5 separate regions of the Homo sapiens genome follow, and all the other regions are linked to region 5. The links are contacts of gene promoters, found by promoter capture Hi-C in blood cells and fetal thymus (Javierre and others, 2016). All regions are on one chromosome and are shown on one strand. The core of a region is centred on a gene start or on the middle of the fragment in contact, and the rest is flanking DNA. Distances in the headings are between cores, read along the strand shown.

Region 1 (2,700 bases), core at 178-2,677, 210 kb before region 5:
ATCATCTCAGCCTTTTCTCATGTTTGCCACGGCCAGCGTTTTGTTTTTTTTCTGGTTCAGAATCAAGGTGAGGTGATGCCAAGGTATAAACCACCTGCTTTCTGAGTGACACCACGGACTGTTAACTTATGAGTTCCTCTCTCCAGGGCACAGCTACAGAGGCAATAGGGCATTTTGGAGGTATTTATGTTACTTCCAATTAGGCATTCTAATTAAGATGGACTAAGGGAGGAGTAATATGAGTGAGAATTGGGCATACCTGGGTGAGGGTGTCCTTGGGTTATTCTGAATACTGGGGGATTCATTGATACTCTTGGAAGTCAGCACTAAGCTCAGGAAGATCCCATGAGGTTGAAGCAGCCAGACCAGACCGGAGTGGAGCAGCCAGGGCAGAACATCTTCATCTGGGAGCCACACTCTTGGATTCAAGCGATTCTCCTGCCTCAGCCTCCCAAGTAGCTGGGATTACAGGCACCCACCGCCATGCCCAGCTAATTTTTGTATCTTTAGTAGAGATGACATTTCACCATGTTGGCCAGGCTGGTCTCAAACTCCTGATCTCAGGTCATCCACCCGCCTTGGCCTCCCAAAGTGCTGGGATTACAGGCGTGAGCCACTGTGCCTGCCCTCAACTGTCTTTTTACTGATACTTGTTACTTTCCACTCCACAGGCTGGGCATAGACCCCCATCTCCTCTTCGCTGCTCCTTTTGGCGGCTTCCTAACCTCATGTCCTGGCCCTCATCCTCTGCATCCAAGCTCCCCTACATGCAGCTACCGTGGCGTAGGCAAATCCCATATCTTATTGTGTCAGCACCAACCTTAACCTGAAATCCTCCAGCCTGGCTTAAACCTTAAAAAGTGCATCCCCTCTGTCCCTTACCGCTCTACCCCGTCCACCTGCTCCACCTCCAATCCCCTCACCCTACTGGAGCTCAGCTCTGCACTGAAGGTTTGCCAAGCTCTCTTGGGGCGTCTGCGGCTTTACTTGCATGGGTGTGTTTGTGTGGTGGCATTCCCTCCCAATCTGTGCTCTGAGCAACCCCCTGCTCTCTCCATCCCCGACCCCAATTCCGTCTCCTCCAGAAATTTGCTCTGACTTCTCCTGCAGGGGGTGGAGCTCCTCTCTGCTACCACCTGTGGAGTGTGATCATCACCTTCCGGCCTGCCGCACTAGACTGTGATGTCTCCGTGCATTTGCATTGGTCTGTGTGGTGTGGTACCAAGGCACTGATGAAGAAAAGGGAGGATCTAAACTTCAGTCCAAGCCCTGCCAGGAACTAGCTTCAAGACTGCACCCGAGGCATTCTGCCTCACTGAGCTTCTCCTTGTTTATAAATATAGACGGGGTCTGAGTGGTCCTGACAGCACTGGGATTCCAGCACTTCCTCCCTTGGGAGCTCCCGTTCCCTTCGACATTCCCCTCCAATGCTGGTATACAGAGTCCTAAGTCTTCCCCATGGAGGCCAGTGAGGGAGCCAAGAATCTGCTTGTCTTTCAAAAGACTGTTGCTCTCCATTCCCTTAAAGGTATATGAGAGAATTTATGCTACTGAAATATAGGCAACGGTGAAGAATTTGGATTTAACGACACAGGAAGCAGAAGGCTCTCAATGGTTTTCAACAGAAGCATCACAAGATGGAAACAGAGAATGCCCCAGGAACAGAATGGTGAGAAGGGAGGAGGCTGGGAGCAGAAGATACTTTAGGAGGCCCCAGGTGTGTCCACGAGAGACTGAAGAGGACCTGCATTAGTCTGTTCTCACTCTGCTAATAAAGACATACCCAAGGCTGAGGCATTTATAAGGAAAAAAGGTTTAACTGACTCACAGTTCCACATGGCTGGGGAGGACCCACAATCATGGCAGAAGGTGAAGGAGGAGCAAAGTCATGTCTTACTTGGCGGCAGGCAAGAGAGCTTGCGTAGGGGAACTCCCATTTATAAAACCATAAGATCTCCTGAGACTTATTCACTACCACGAGAACAATATGGGGAAACCACCACCATGGTTCAATTATCTCCACCTGGCGCCACCCTGGACGTGTGGGGATTGTTATAATTCAAAGTGAGATTTGGGTGGGGACACAGCCAAACCATATCAGGACCCGAACTGAGGACAGGGAACCAGGTCCTACTCACTCGTGAATTCATCTCCTGGGAAAGGCAAACAGTTCTTCCTTCAAAGTCATGACCAGCTTCCAACGTGCAACCAAATGAAACTTGGTATCGAATGCATTTTCGACTGAAAAAGCCGAGGAGATTGTGCTTTTTCTTATGACTTTCATCACACATCCTGCCCCTGGCGTTTCCAAAAGCCGTTGCATTTGGACTGCTTTCCCTCCTAAGCCTGTGTTAGCCTCGCCTTCTGAGCTTCCCACAGTACACATTTTTTGCAGGTGCATTTGCTTGTATTTGCAAGACAGAAGCTCACTTTGTTGGAACTTTCTTTCCTCGGTCCCTCTTCATCGTCTTCATCTCCTAATTGGTGTTTGTAATAACTCCCAGCTTAGTATCATCTGCAAGTTTCATTAATATGTTGATTCCTCCTTTGTCATTAATAAAAACATTAAATTATTATTTAACATTCATTGTGCACCAACAATGTATTAAGAGTTGTGCAGAAATGAGAAAAAGATCCACTCTGACTGCAACCTCATTTTCGTGTCGTTGAAAACTCAAATCGCTGAGCACAGTTGAATTT
Region 2 (2,700 bases), core at 109-2,608, 160 kb before region 5:
CCCCACACAATAGCCAAACAATGGCTACTAATGGAAACAAAGCGTGCAGAAAAGTGGGGATCATAAGAAAATGCATGCCCCCTTTAGATCCCAACCTTGATAACCCAAGGAAGGCCCAGAGTGGCCACATGGCAGGTGGCAAAGCATGCTGCCCTCTCGCAGGCTTTGCTCACATACAGCTAGTCTGGAGCCCTCTAGTCCTTGCCAGTTACAGTCATGAGTTGTCCAAGAAGAGAATACATTCTGAACAATGTATCCTTAGAGGATTCTGTCACTGTGCAAACATTATAGAATGTAGTAACATATACCTAGGTGGCATAGCCTACTACACACCTAGGCTAGCTGGCACAGCCTATTGCTCTGGGCTACAAACCTGTACAGGGTGCTGTGCCACTGTACTGAATACCGTAGGCAATTACAAGTATTTTCGCATATTAACGACAATACTAAGTATTTGCACATCTAAATTTCTAAACATAGAAGAGGTTTAAAATATGCTATAAAAGATGTAAAAAATCATATACTTATACAGGGCGCTTACCATGAATAGAGCTCACAGGACTGGGAGCTACTCCGGGTGAGTGAGTGGTGAGTGAATGTGAAGGCCCAGCCATTACTGCTGCTACAGACTTTATAAACACTCTATACTTCAGCTACACTCAATTCAGATAAAAACTCCATTCTTCAATAAGTTAACCTTAGCTTCCTGTAACTTTTTTACTTTGTAAACTTTTTCATTTTCTCAACTTTTTTATTCTCATAACATTTAGCCTAAAATACGAACACAGCTGTACAAATATATATATGTGTATATATACGTACAAATATATACATAGTACAAATACATGTGTGTGTATATATGTATTTAATATCCTTATTCTGTAAGCTTTACTCTATTTGTAAATTTTTTTATTTTTTTTAAACTTTTTTTGTTAAAAACTAAGACACAAACACATTAGCCTAGACCTACACAGGGTCAGGATCATCCATGTCACTGGCTTCCACCTCCACATCTTCTCCCACTAGAAGTTCTTCAGGGGCAGTAACACCATGGAGCTGTCATCTCATATGAGATTAACAACAATGCCTTCTTCTGATGCCTCCTAAAGGACCTGCCTCAGGCTGTTCCACACCTCTCTTATTTTTTCATAAGTAGTAGTACACTCTAAAATAACGATAAAAAAGTACAGAATAGTAAATACTAGGCAGAATGCATTTTTCAGCTCCTGTAATCTTATGGGATCACCATTATATATATGGTCTATCATTAGCAAAACATGGTGATGAGGCGCATGACTGTATGTCTCTGCTGAGCTTTAGACTAGTAGAAACCTTAGCAAAGTCCTCTCAATCTGGACCCATCATGCCCCAACACCCTCTTTCCTTCGCTGGTCCCACCATGGTGGCTCTATCCGTTCATGCTTTCTCAAGGAAATAGTTCAAATGCCCCTGAAGCCTTCCTGAGTACTTCTGGCAGAATTCACTGTTCTCTCTGTGCTGTAACCCACTATCCACACTGCAAATCTAGCCCTTCAAGCCCCAAATGATCGCAGCCCACACCTGCATCTAATGCTGAGCAAGGGATCAGAGGGGGCAGGGATTATGTCTTACCTACGTACCCAGGGCATCTGGCACAAGCCAGGTGTTCAAAAATGTTTGAAAAATTAAATAAATATCCGCTATGTGCACAAAAAAGCACCCACTATGTGCAGTACACATAATGCAAAGGGACATAAAGACGTGCAAAGGAAGACCATGCCCCAAATCAGCTTAATTTCTAGGTGAGGAAATGCCACTTATTTCCTAATATGTTACACAATCAGAAGCTTAGGGTTTACACGTAGCTTTTCTGCAGCATACCAGGTCAATGATCTTGCAAATATATAGGAAAAAAAGGAAATAATATCGTATTACTTATCACCAGGCATGCTACTGCTCAATACTTTATACCCATTGCCCCATTTAATTTGTTCATGAGGTTGATCATATTTTAGAGATGAATAAACTAAGGCTCAGAGAAGTTAGGATGCTTGCTAAAAATCACACAGTTAGCAGGTAGCAGAGGCAGAACAGAGATCTGAACCTATATCCCACAGCAATGTTCAGCCACGCAACTCAACCAACCATCTAGTTCTGACTTTTTATTTAAACCACTAAGAGTCACTTTTATTATAGTTATGCATTGCACGGGAAAGATTCTGTCTATTAAATGTTACGTTTTTGTTTTGTTTTGTTTCTGAGACAGGGTCTTGCTCTGCTGCCCAGGCTGGAGTGCAGTGGTGTAATCATGGCTCACTGCGGCCTCGACCTCCTGGGCTCAAGCAGTCTTCCTGCTTCAGCTTCCTGAGTAGCTGGGGCCACAGGTGTCTGTCACCACGCCCAGCTAATTTTTTTATTTTTTGTAGAGACAAGGTCTCACTATGTTGCCCAGGATTGTCTCAAACTCCTGAGCTCAAACAGTCCTCCCACCTCGGCCTCCCAAAATGCTGGGATTACAGGCAGGAGACACTGTGCCTGGGCAAAAAGTTACACTTTTATTTTTTTATTTATTTTAATTTTATTTTATTTTATTTATTGAGATGGAGTTTCACTTTTGTTTGTTTATTTATTTATTGAGATGGAGTTTCACTTTTGTTGCCCAGGCTGGAGTGCAATGGCGCGATCTCAGCTCACTGCAACCTCCACCTCCCGGGTTCAAGT
Region 3 (2,700 bases), core at 162-2,661, 180 kb before region 5:
CATGGTTGAGGAGAAGATTTAACCAAAAACAACAACAACAACAAACCCTCCAATACAAAAAATAGCTTAGTGTCTTCTCAGTTATAAATGGCAGCTGACAGGCAGCCTCAGTTCCAGGGGACAAGGAGTAGTGAGGACTGTGGGGCTTTGGCCCAGGAGGCGCCTCCAGCAAGAGCTGGGGCTCTGCTACGCTGGCTGCCAGCATGGGGAGGCAGCCTCGGAGAGGCTTAGGATTCGGATTTCCCAGAGAAGCCAGAAATTCCAGTTTTTATGTGACATCTTCTGATTTAAAAATTTCCACAAAATGAGATTTCTGAATTTTGATTTAGATCATCTTTGGACAATAATTTAAATGAGACTAGAATGTCACAGATAAAGAAAACTAAGTCATCAGGCTCCAAACACTCACCAGCCTCCATCTAAAGTTTTGAAGCCCCTAAGATGCCAAGTACACGTGAAGTATAAGTACAAGTGGTTCGTGCTTGCAGCTGCCTGCCTGATGCAGGCTGCTCAGAAAGGCCCAGGCCCTGTGTGTCAGGAGCTCATCCTGATGGCAGAATCGGCCTTGTCAACGCAAGAACTCAAATCCAATATGTCCAGGGTTGTAATCAATGCAGAGAATCTCAGGGGGAACACAGAGGGTGGAGGCCCCAACCCTGTCCTCGGAACCATGAAGCTTGACAAAGGGATGTGATCCCCACCTGAAGTGTGGCAGGAGCCCCCAGGGAAAGGAGGAGGGCAGAGCAGGGCACTCCAGACACGGGAAGAGAGGTTCGCCCGGAAGGAGACCAGGGGTGTGTGGCAGGGACCCTGAGAGGGTCGGGGGCTAGAACAGGGCACAGGGGTCACACGGAAAGGAACAGGAGCTGGGGACGGTGGAATGGGAAAAGGGGCGCACAGGGAGCAGCTGGTGAGCACACCCTGGGGAGGGTGGTGGGTAGAGTGGCAGCTCCTCTATGAGGATCCTGGACTCAACAGGAGCAGGGGCAAGTGTCCAGCAGAACCACGTGACCTTGTAGATTTTGTAGGAGAAAAAGACCTGGATATGATGAATTTCCTATGCATCAACCTACGAAATGTCAAAGTACAGAGCGTGGTGCGGCAGCATTCTCCTGGGCAAACAGCCCGACTATGGCTGCAGGGGAGGCCGCCACCAGGGAGTGTCTCCCCATCCCCCTCCAGACAGTATTTATGACCAGTGCACCCTACTCCTGTTCTTGTTTCTGTACCCCCATTTCAGATCACCTTCAACACAGTGAAGTCTTGCAGAAACTTCAGGTACTGCAGGACTTGCAACCTTTAAAAGTAACAAACCACGCATGCATTTGTCATTCCAGCCAAGCCGTGTTAAGTGTGGTTCTCACACACCTTTCTATTTCCAGGGCCTCACACAGTGCCTGGTACATAGTCAGTTCTCAAAAATAAATAGACATACAAATAATGACAGGCTTGAGTGAGGCTCAAGAGGTACAGTGTGTGTTAGGGTTGACTGAGCCACAGCCACTTACACTGTAACAGCACTTTTAGGAAGAAAGCATGCCTGCTTCTCCTGGCCCACAGCCATGCCTTTGGTGGCAGCTTGTGTACAAAGGGTACCTGGTCTCCCCGGGGAGGAAGGTGATCGGCATGGTCTCCGGGCAGCCCTGGCCAGGGTGCCAGCTGGCTTTGCAGGTGGAGCAGAATTCCATACGGCAGGCTTTGCACTGCACTGGCTGGGGGGTCTGCAGCCCCACGTCCTGGAGCTGACACACAGCTTGGCAGGTGGACGCCGGGCACCAAGTCCGACAGGGATCAAACAGCACCTCTGGTACAGTGAGACAAAATGGACAAATCAAACTTAAGCCAGAGGGTCATGTGGGCTTCAGAGGAAGGAGCCCCTCAGTGCACGGACAGGGAGGAACATGTCCAGGTAATACAGCCAGCACCACCAGCCCCAACCGAAGCACCGCCCAAGCCACCCTTCCACCTCCACCTCCGCTGTAGCTCTTCCCAACTTCTCCCTTCATGCAACAGACCTCCAGACACCCAGACATCCCTCAGGAATGCTGCTCCTGCCCCTGGAATGCCCTTGGAGCCCTGGGTCAGCCCTGCTTGCCTCTGACACTCAGCTCACAGCTCAAAGGCCTCCACATCCTGGAAAGCTTGGCCCACCTGCCTGTCGGGTTTCTCTGAGCAATGCACATGGCGCTAGCTCATCTGCCTCCCCTAGGGGACAGTTTTCTGAAGCTGGACCCCTGATGGCCCCATGTTGGGCATACAGCCAGCACCAGGAAAATGCTGCTAGAAGACCGAGAGGAAGAGGGAAGGAAGATGGCTGGATTGTTCTTCTAACCAAATGGTTCACCTGCCTAAGATGGCCTCCCCTTCTCAAATCCAAGCCACGAGTTAACTACGGAGTGAAACCAATCCTTCAAGGGCCAGATTTTCTCTCCAAATCACAGCACACATTTCTAAGAAGCCCAATTTAATGGAATTAGCCACAAAGTTTATTTCTAAAAACAAGACACTTTGACACATCTATTTCTTCACATCCTTGTCCAAAAATTGCATTTCTTTAAATTATTGGCTGCCCTTTGTAGGAAGACTGGTTGTTCATTTCATCTTCCCTCTTGTCCAGCATGATGCCGAATTCTCGATCAGTGGCCACCCCAGGGAGCAGCAAGGCTCTGCCAGAAAGCTCTCCCAGGCCAGTGCAATGTG
Region 4 (2,791 bases), core at 267-2,766, 230 kb before region 5:
CACATGGGATGTGCTTAGAACAGCGTCTGGCATAGCGTACGTGCTTAACAACAGCTTGTTATAATCTTTACTTTTCACTGAAATAACAACGGTTATTTAACACAGTCAATGGCCAGGCATCGGGTTCCTCCACTTGCATAGGCTAAGATTGCCAGACATGAAGACACCTCATTATCTCCAGGGGTGACTTTGAGTTAACTTAAAAAATGATTCATTCCTTATTACCCATTCCTTAGGACTTTCTACTGCCCTCTTTCAGAAAATTATCATATATGTGTAAATCTATGATAAATATGAATATGAATCACATGTTCTGACCTCATGTTGGCCTTCATACAAATATGAACATCACATCATTTCTGCCCTCCAGAGCCAATACTCAATTCCGGGGAGTGATAGACACATTTGTAATCCTGCATCAGAAAGTACAAAGCGGAGTGGTTTCCCAACAGCCAAACGTGGGGTGAGGAGGAGACTGAGAAAGGCTTCCCACAGGGGCTACTGCATGAGCTGGGTCTTGAAGGAGGAGTAGACCTTCCCAGGGATGGAGACAGGGTGGATCCCTAGGAAAGGAAACAAGCCAGGTAAGGGCCTGAGTGGCGACAGGGTTCTTTGGGGAACTCAAAGTTGTCCGGTACGGCCAGGGTAGATGGGGTGGATCATAGACAGGTGAGGCTGGAGAAGTGGTGTAGAGTTCCAAGGAGTCTCATGGTATGTATGGGACAGAGTGAAGTTCAAGGACAGGAAGGACAGGAAGCCATGAGGAGTGTAAGGCTGCAGATTCCAGATCAGATGCTAGTTCATTCTGGCCCATGACCCTGGCTTCAGCTCAGCCCATTTGAGGTAAACACTTGGATTCCAGTCAAGGAAATGCCTTTCTGGTCTTTCTGATTTTCTAGATTTTCTAGAATGTCTTCAAAATCCTGATCAATGAGCACATGTCCCAAAGTTGGTTCATGCATTCATTCACTCATTCCACAAATATCTATTGTTTGCTTTGTACCTGACACCACTAAGCTCTAAGACTCAGTGATGGAGACGTTGCCATTGCCTTCAAACAGACACTAACTGGGGCGAGACAGGTAAATAAATCAGTAATATTCTGTGGCAGGATAAGTGAGAAAATAAAACAATATGCTCTGAAAAATGGAATGGGGTAGGAAGAGGAGAGACAGATGGCAGAAAAATTGAAGGAGGCCTTTTATAGAAGTGCATCCATTTCCTGAGGTTCCTGTGGGATTCTACAAGCCTGACAGGCAGTTCTTGATCAAGCTCTGGCTTCTCTTTGCTTAACAGTTCTTCCCTCCATTCATCTGTAAGCAGCAAAGAGAAACCAGGCCATACCTTCCACACTTTGCTTTGAAATTTCCTCTGTTAAACATCTGAGTCCATTGTTTACAAGTTCTACTTTCCACACACAGAAGGATGTGATTGAGCTAACCCTTCTGCCATTCTATAGCAAAAATCATCTGTGCCCTCACTAGTAGCACCTGTAGCTTCCAAAGTCTACCAACACTCTGCTCAAGGCAATCTGGGCTTTGTCTAGCATGTGGCTAAACATTTACCCAGCCTCTGCTCATTGCCCAATGCCAAAGCTACTTCCCCATTTTTAGGCATTTGTTACAGCAGCATCGAGCTACTATCATCCTACTTCCTACTGTCACTGAGCAGAATGACATGACAAAAAAGTCAGTAGGAACTGGCTTAGGCAACGTGGGGGATTGCCTAGGCAAATCCAAAATCCTTAGGGTGGGCTGGAGCCTGTCGAGTAGGAGCAGACACTGGAGTTCCAGGAGGAATTTCTTCCTTAGGAGAACTTCCCCTCTTTCTTCTTTTAAGGCCTTCAAGTGAAGTGGACCAAGCCTACCCAGAATATCAAAGATGGTCTTCTTCATTTAAAGCAAACTGGTGGTAAATGTTAAATCACATCTACAAAATAGCTACAGAGCAACACCTAGATGACTGTTTTGTTGAGTGACTGGAGACCCTAGCCTCGCCACATTGACATACAACACTATCACCAGAAGGGAATCCATTCAGCATCCCAAACCTTAAGAAGCACAGTGTAGGGAGGAGATTTATCTTGTAATTAGTAAATGCCAGGCCTCCTTCTTATACTTTACCCACAATGGTATTTACCTGTAATCATCACACAAATGTGATCACATAGGTGCTGCAATGAAACTGGAATTGAGAAATTGAGCCAAATGTAAATAACTCAGGCCAAGTCACACGGCTGGGAAGTAGTGAGGCTGTGATGTGAAATTACACTGTCTGACTACAATGTTTTTGCCCTAAGACCTTGTCCAAAGAAGGAGCGTGCTGCTGGCCCATGCTTTGTCCCTGACCATCAAGCACATAAGGAACTCTGCAGTGCCTCCCATGCTAGGGAAATCCAAGCCACTGCCCATTGCGTTTCTGCCTAACCACACATCTGCAGCTGGCTCTGTGTCAGTTTCCCAGGGCTTCTGTAAAAAAGTCACAGCAAAGGCCAGGCACGGTGGCTCATGCCTGTAATCCCTGCACTTTGGGAGGCCGAGGAGGGTGGAGCACATGAGGTCAGGAGTTCGAGGCCAGCCTGGCCAACATGGTGAAACTCTGTCTCTACTAAAAATACAAAAAATTAGCCTGGCATGGTGGCACGCTCCTGTAATCCCAGCTACTTGGGAGGCTGAGGCAGGAGAATCGCTTGAACCTGGGAGATGGAGGTTGTAGTGATCTGAGATCATGCCACTGCACTCCAACTTGGGTGACAGAGTGAGACTCCATCTCAAAAAAAAAAAAAAAAAAA
Region 5 (2,791 bases), core at 105-2,604:
TGGCAATGATACATTGCAAAGGACACCAGAAGGGGATGGATGAAATAGCTGAAGGAAATAGGCTAGCAGACCAAACAGCTAAGTCAGCAGTAAGAAGACCCCAAAGTCCCAGCACACTTGAAGGCTGTCTAATTTGGGAGGGCTCCATAAGGGAAATAAAGCCTCAGTATTCTCCTGCAGAGATAGAATGGGCCACCTCTCGAGGATACACTTTTCAGCCCTCAGGATGGTTACAATCAGAGGATGGCAAATGTTATTTGTCAGTCTCCAGTCAGTGGAAAGTTCTTAAGATCCTTCACCAAACTTTTCACTTGGGAAAGAATAAAACTCATCAAATAGCCCAGAGGTTGTTCTCAGGTAAATATCTACCAAAAACAGTCAAACAAATTGTTAATGCTTATAAGATCTGCCTCAAAAACAATCCCCTCAACAAATGGCATCTCCCCATCCCCAGCAACACAAAGAATGGGAAACTGCCCAGGGGAGGACTGGCAAATGGATTTTACCCATTTTCCAAAGATAAGGGGAATTCAGCACCTCTTGTTGTGGGTGGATGCCTTCACTAGCTGGGTAGAGGCATTTCTATGTCAAACAGAAAGTCCTCTAAGGTGATAAAAGCATTAGTCAATGAAATAATTCCTCGTTTTGGACTCCCTAAATACCTCCAAAGTGACAATGGCCCCTCATTTAAGGCAGCTGTTACCCAAGGGGTCTCAAAAGCACTGAGCATACAATACCATCTTCATTGTGCTTGAAGACTGCAGTCTTCAGGGAAGGTGGAGAAAACAAATGATATCATTAAGAGACACCTCAGGAAGTGGTCTCAAGAAACTCACCTCCTCTAAACTGCTTATCTTCCTATAGCCTTAGTGCAGGTGAGGAGCACCCCTTCAAATTTGGGGTTGAAGGGGTGTTCCTTCACCCTTTTGAAATGGTATATGGACGGCCTTTCCTTACCAATGATTTTATATTACATCAGAGAACTTCTGAATTGGTTAAACATGTAACCTCCCTGGCCCAGTTCTAGCAGGAATTAAAACAGTTATCAGAATTCCAACCCCAAGAACTAGGGCCACCTCTGTTCTACCAAGGAGACTTGGTACTGGTGAAGGATTTTTCCTCTCTTTTCCCCTCTCTAGGTCCCAGCTGGGAGGAACCTTATACCATCCTTCTCTCCACCTGCTCGGCAGTGAAGTTTGTGGGACTGGAATCTTGGATTCATCACACTCGAGTCAAGGCCTGGAATGACCCCTGACATCCCAGAAGAACATCTCAGATATCAGTGTGAAAAGTCTGGGGATTTCAAACTGAAAATCCAAAAGATAAGTAAATGAGTGGGAACTCTCTGTTCAGTTCAATCCCACCCTTCCTTACCAGATACTAAAGTCATTTCTACCTTTCCTCTTGAGATTTGCTGTTAGATATTAGAACTTCTCTTTGTCACATACTTACAGGGAGATTTTGATTATCCATGGGATTCCATTCATAACCTCATAAACCACCCCCACGAAGAAATTATATATCTCGGTGAGTAAGATTTAAAGTGGAACTTTATTACTTCACACATATGGGAATTGTTGTACTCACCTTGCTCTTTGCAGTAGGACTGCATACTGTGGCACCTTCTAAGTGGAATATTGGGAAAAGAGTCTCAATTGCCATAATCTTTTGCTTAGTTATTATTCATATAGCAGGGATAGTAGTCACAGGCAAGAGATAAACATGAAGATTTTGTTACTATCAAGTTTACTAGCATTCACTGTTAGATGTAGCAATGCCTCACATTCTTTGGCTCCTACAATATCAGATATTACCGATCTCTACAACAAGACTGATTACTGGGTTTGCCCTGAACAATTTACTCAGTTTAATAACACCAATGGACTCTTTGATGATTCAGAACTCACTATCTTAGGGTTTCCCTCTGATGGCTTTACCTTAAATCATTAAGGACCTAATAGGTATAAAGGGAACATGGTATGGGAGCATTTTTAACTCCACCCAGAAAGACACACCTCCTGATGGTAAAACTCACACCCTTAGACTAGGTGAAGTTGATAGAATGATAGCCAATGCCTGTCTCTGCTTTAAGAGTAAAGGAAAAGGACCATACTCGGGAAACCTTAAATAATTGCAACAGTATGCTTGTAATTGCTGAGAGCACAGAGATCTGGAGACTAAGAAGGAACAAGGGTGACACCAAACATTGGGAGAGACTGTGGAAAAATTTTAACAATCTAGCCAGACCTCCCAGGTGGAGTTCCCAATGGGAATGTCTACCCCGGGCAGAAATGCCACCCCTCGCCAACCTTATTATCAGGTAATAAATAGCACATGGTCCTTCCCAAACATGCCCACACATGGAATCCTGGACCCTTGTATGATATTTGATAATGACAGTGATCTGCAGATTTGTGAATGAACAGGGGATGTCTGGGCCAATAGCCGCTGTAAGGAGGGTTGTCTAAGATACTGGCTGGAACATATTGCGTCTCTGATCTTTCAAAACTATATTTGCCAAACAGATTCTTCCCTCCCAGCATGTAAAGTTCCAAACAATACTGTGGATGACTATACTAAGTATGGATATCCTTATTCTAAAGATGCTTGAATTAGATGTAGGGAAGGCAACCTTATAAGGCCTGGACTAAACTTAGCTGGAACCCTCATAAATCACAACATAGAACCATCCCTTCAGGGAACAGGGCTTTACTTTCTCTGTGGCTCCAGGCTATGCTTATTCCTCCCCAGGCGCTGGAGAGGAACATGCACTATAGTGGCAATGGTCCCC

The links. Contacts are between HindIII fragments. The CHiCAGO score rates a contact against its expected background, and 5 or more counts as called.
Region 1: a contact is called between a fragment that was not itself captured here and the fragment with the promoter of NRIR in region 5, in 6 of 17 cell types (activated CD4 T cells, non-activated CD4 T cells, naive CD8 T cells and 3 more). The highest score is 12.8, in activated CD4 T cells.
Region 2: a fragment that was not itself captured here is called in contact with the fragment with the promoter of NRIR in region 5 in 1 of 17 cell types (activated CD4 T cells); the score reaches 5.8 in activated CD4 T cells.
Region 3: a fragment that was not itself captured here is called in contact with the fragment with the promoter of NRIR in region 5 in 2 of 17 cell types (non-activated CD4 T cells and activated CD4 T cells); the score reaches 7.5 in non-activated CD4 T cells.
Region 4: a fragment that was not itself captured here is called in contact with the fragment with the promoter of NRIR in region 5 in 2 of 17 cell types (activated CD4 T cells and erythroblasts); the score reaches 6.1 in activated CD4 T cells.

Annotation. Positions count from the first base shown.
Region 1 is chr2:7,049,535-7,052,234 of GRCh38, reverse strand. It overlaps a transcript of RNF144A not described here. Among named protein-coding and RNA genes, the nearest start is that of GRASLND, 130 kb to the right of the region's middle. The HindIII fragment of the contact is 7,501 bases long and covers 1-2,700 here.
Region 2 is chr2:7,001,215-7,003,914 of GRCh38, reverse strand. The region is part of intron 3 of RNF144A (ring finger protein 144A); the gene reads right to left. Among named protein-coding and RNA genes, the nearest start is that of GRASLND, 84 kb to the right of the region's middle. The HindIII fragment of the contact is 940 bases long and covers 889-1,828 here.
Region 3 is chr2:7,019,577-7,022,276 of GRCh38, reverse strand. RNF144A (ring finger protein 144A) reads right to left here. Exons shown (of 9, transcript NM_014746.6): 6 at 1,597-1,804. Among named protein-coding and RNA genes, the nearest start is that of GRASLND, 100 kb to the right of the region's middle. The HindIII fragment of the contact is 1,465 bases long and covers 679-2,143 here.
Region 4 is chr2:7,070,934-7,073,724 of GRCh38, reverse strand. The region is part of intron 2 of LOC101929452 (a long non-coding RNA gene); the gene reads left to right. It also overlaps a transcript of RNF144A not described here. Among named protein-coding and RNA genes, the nearest start is that of GRASLND, 150 kb to the right of the region's middle. The HindIII fragment of the contact is 4,886 bases long and covers 1-2,791 here.
Region 5 is chr2:6,839,027-6,841,817 of GRCh38, reverse strand. It overlaps NRIR (negative regulator of interferon response), which reads left to right and starts at 1,354. Exons shown (of 4, transcript NR_126359.1): 1 at 1,354-1,527. It also overlaps a transcript of CMPK2 not described here. The HindIII fragment of the contact is 12,024 bases long and covers 1-2,791 here.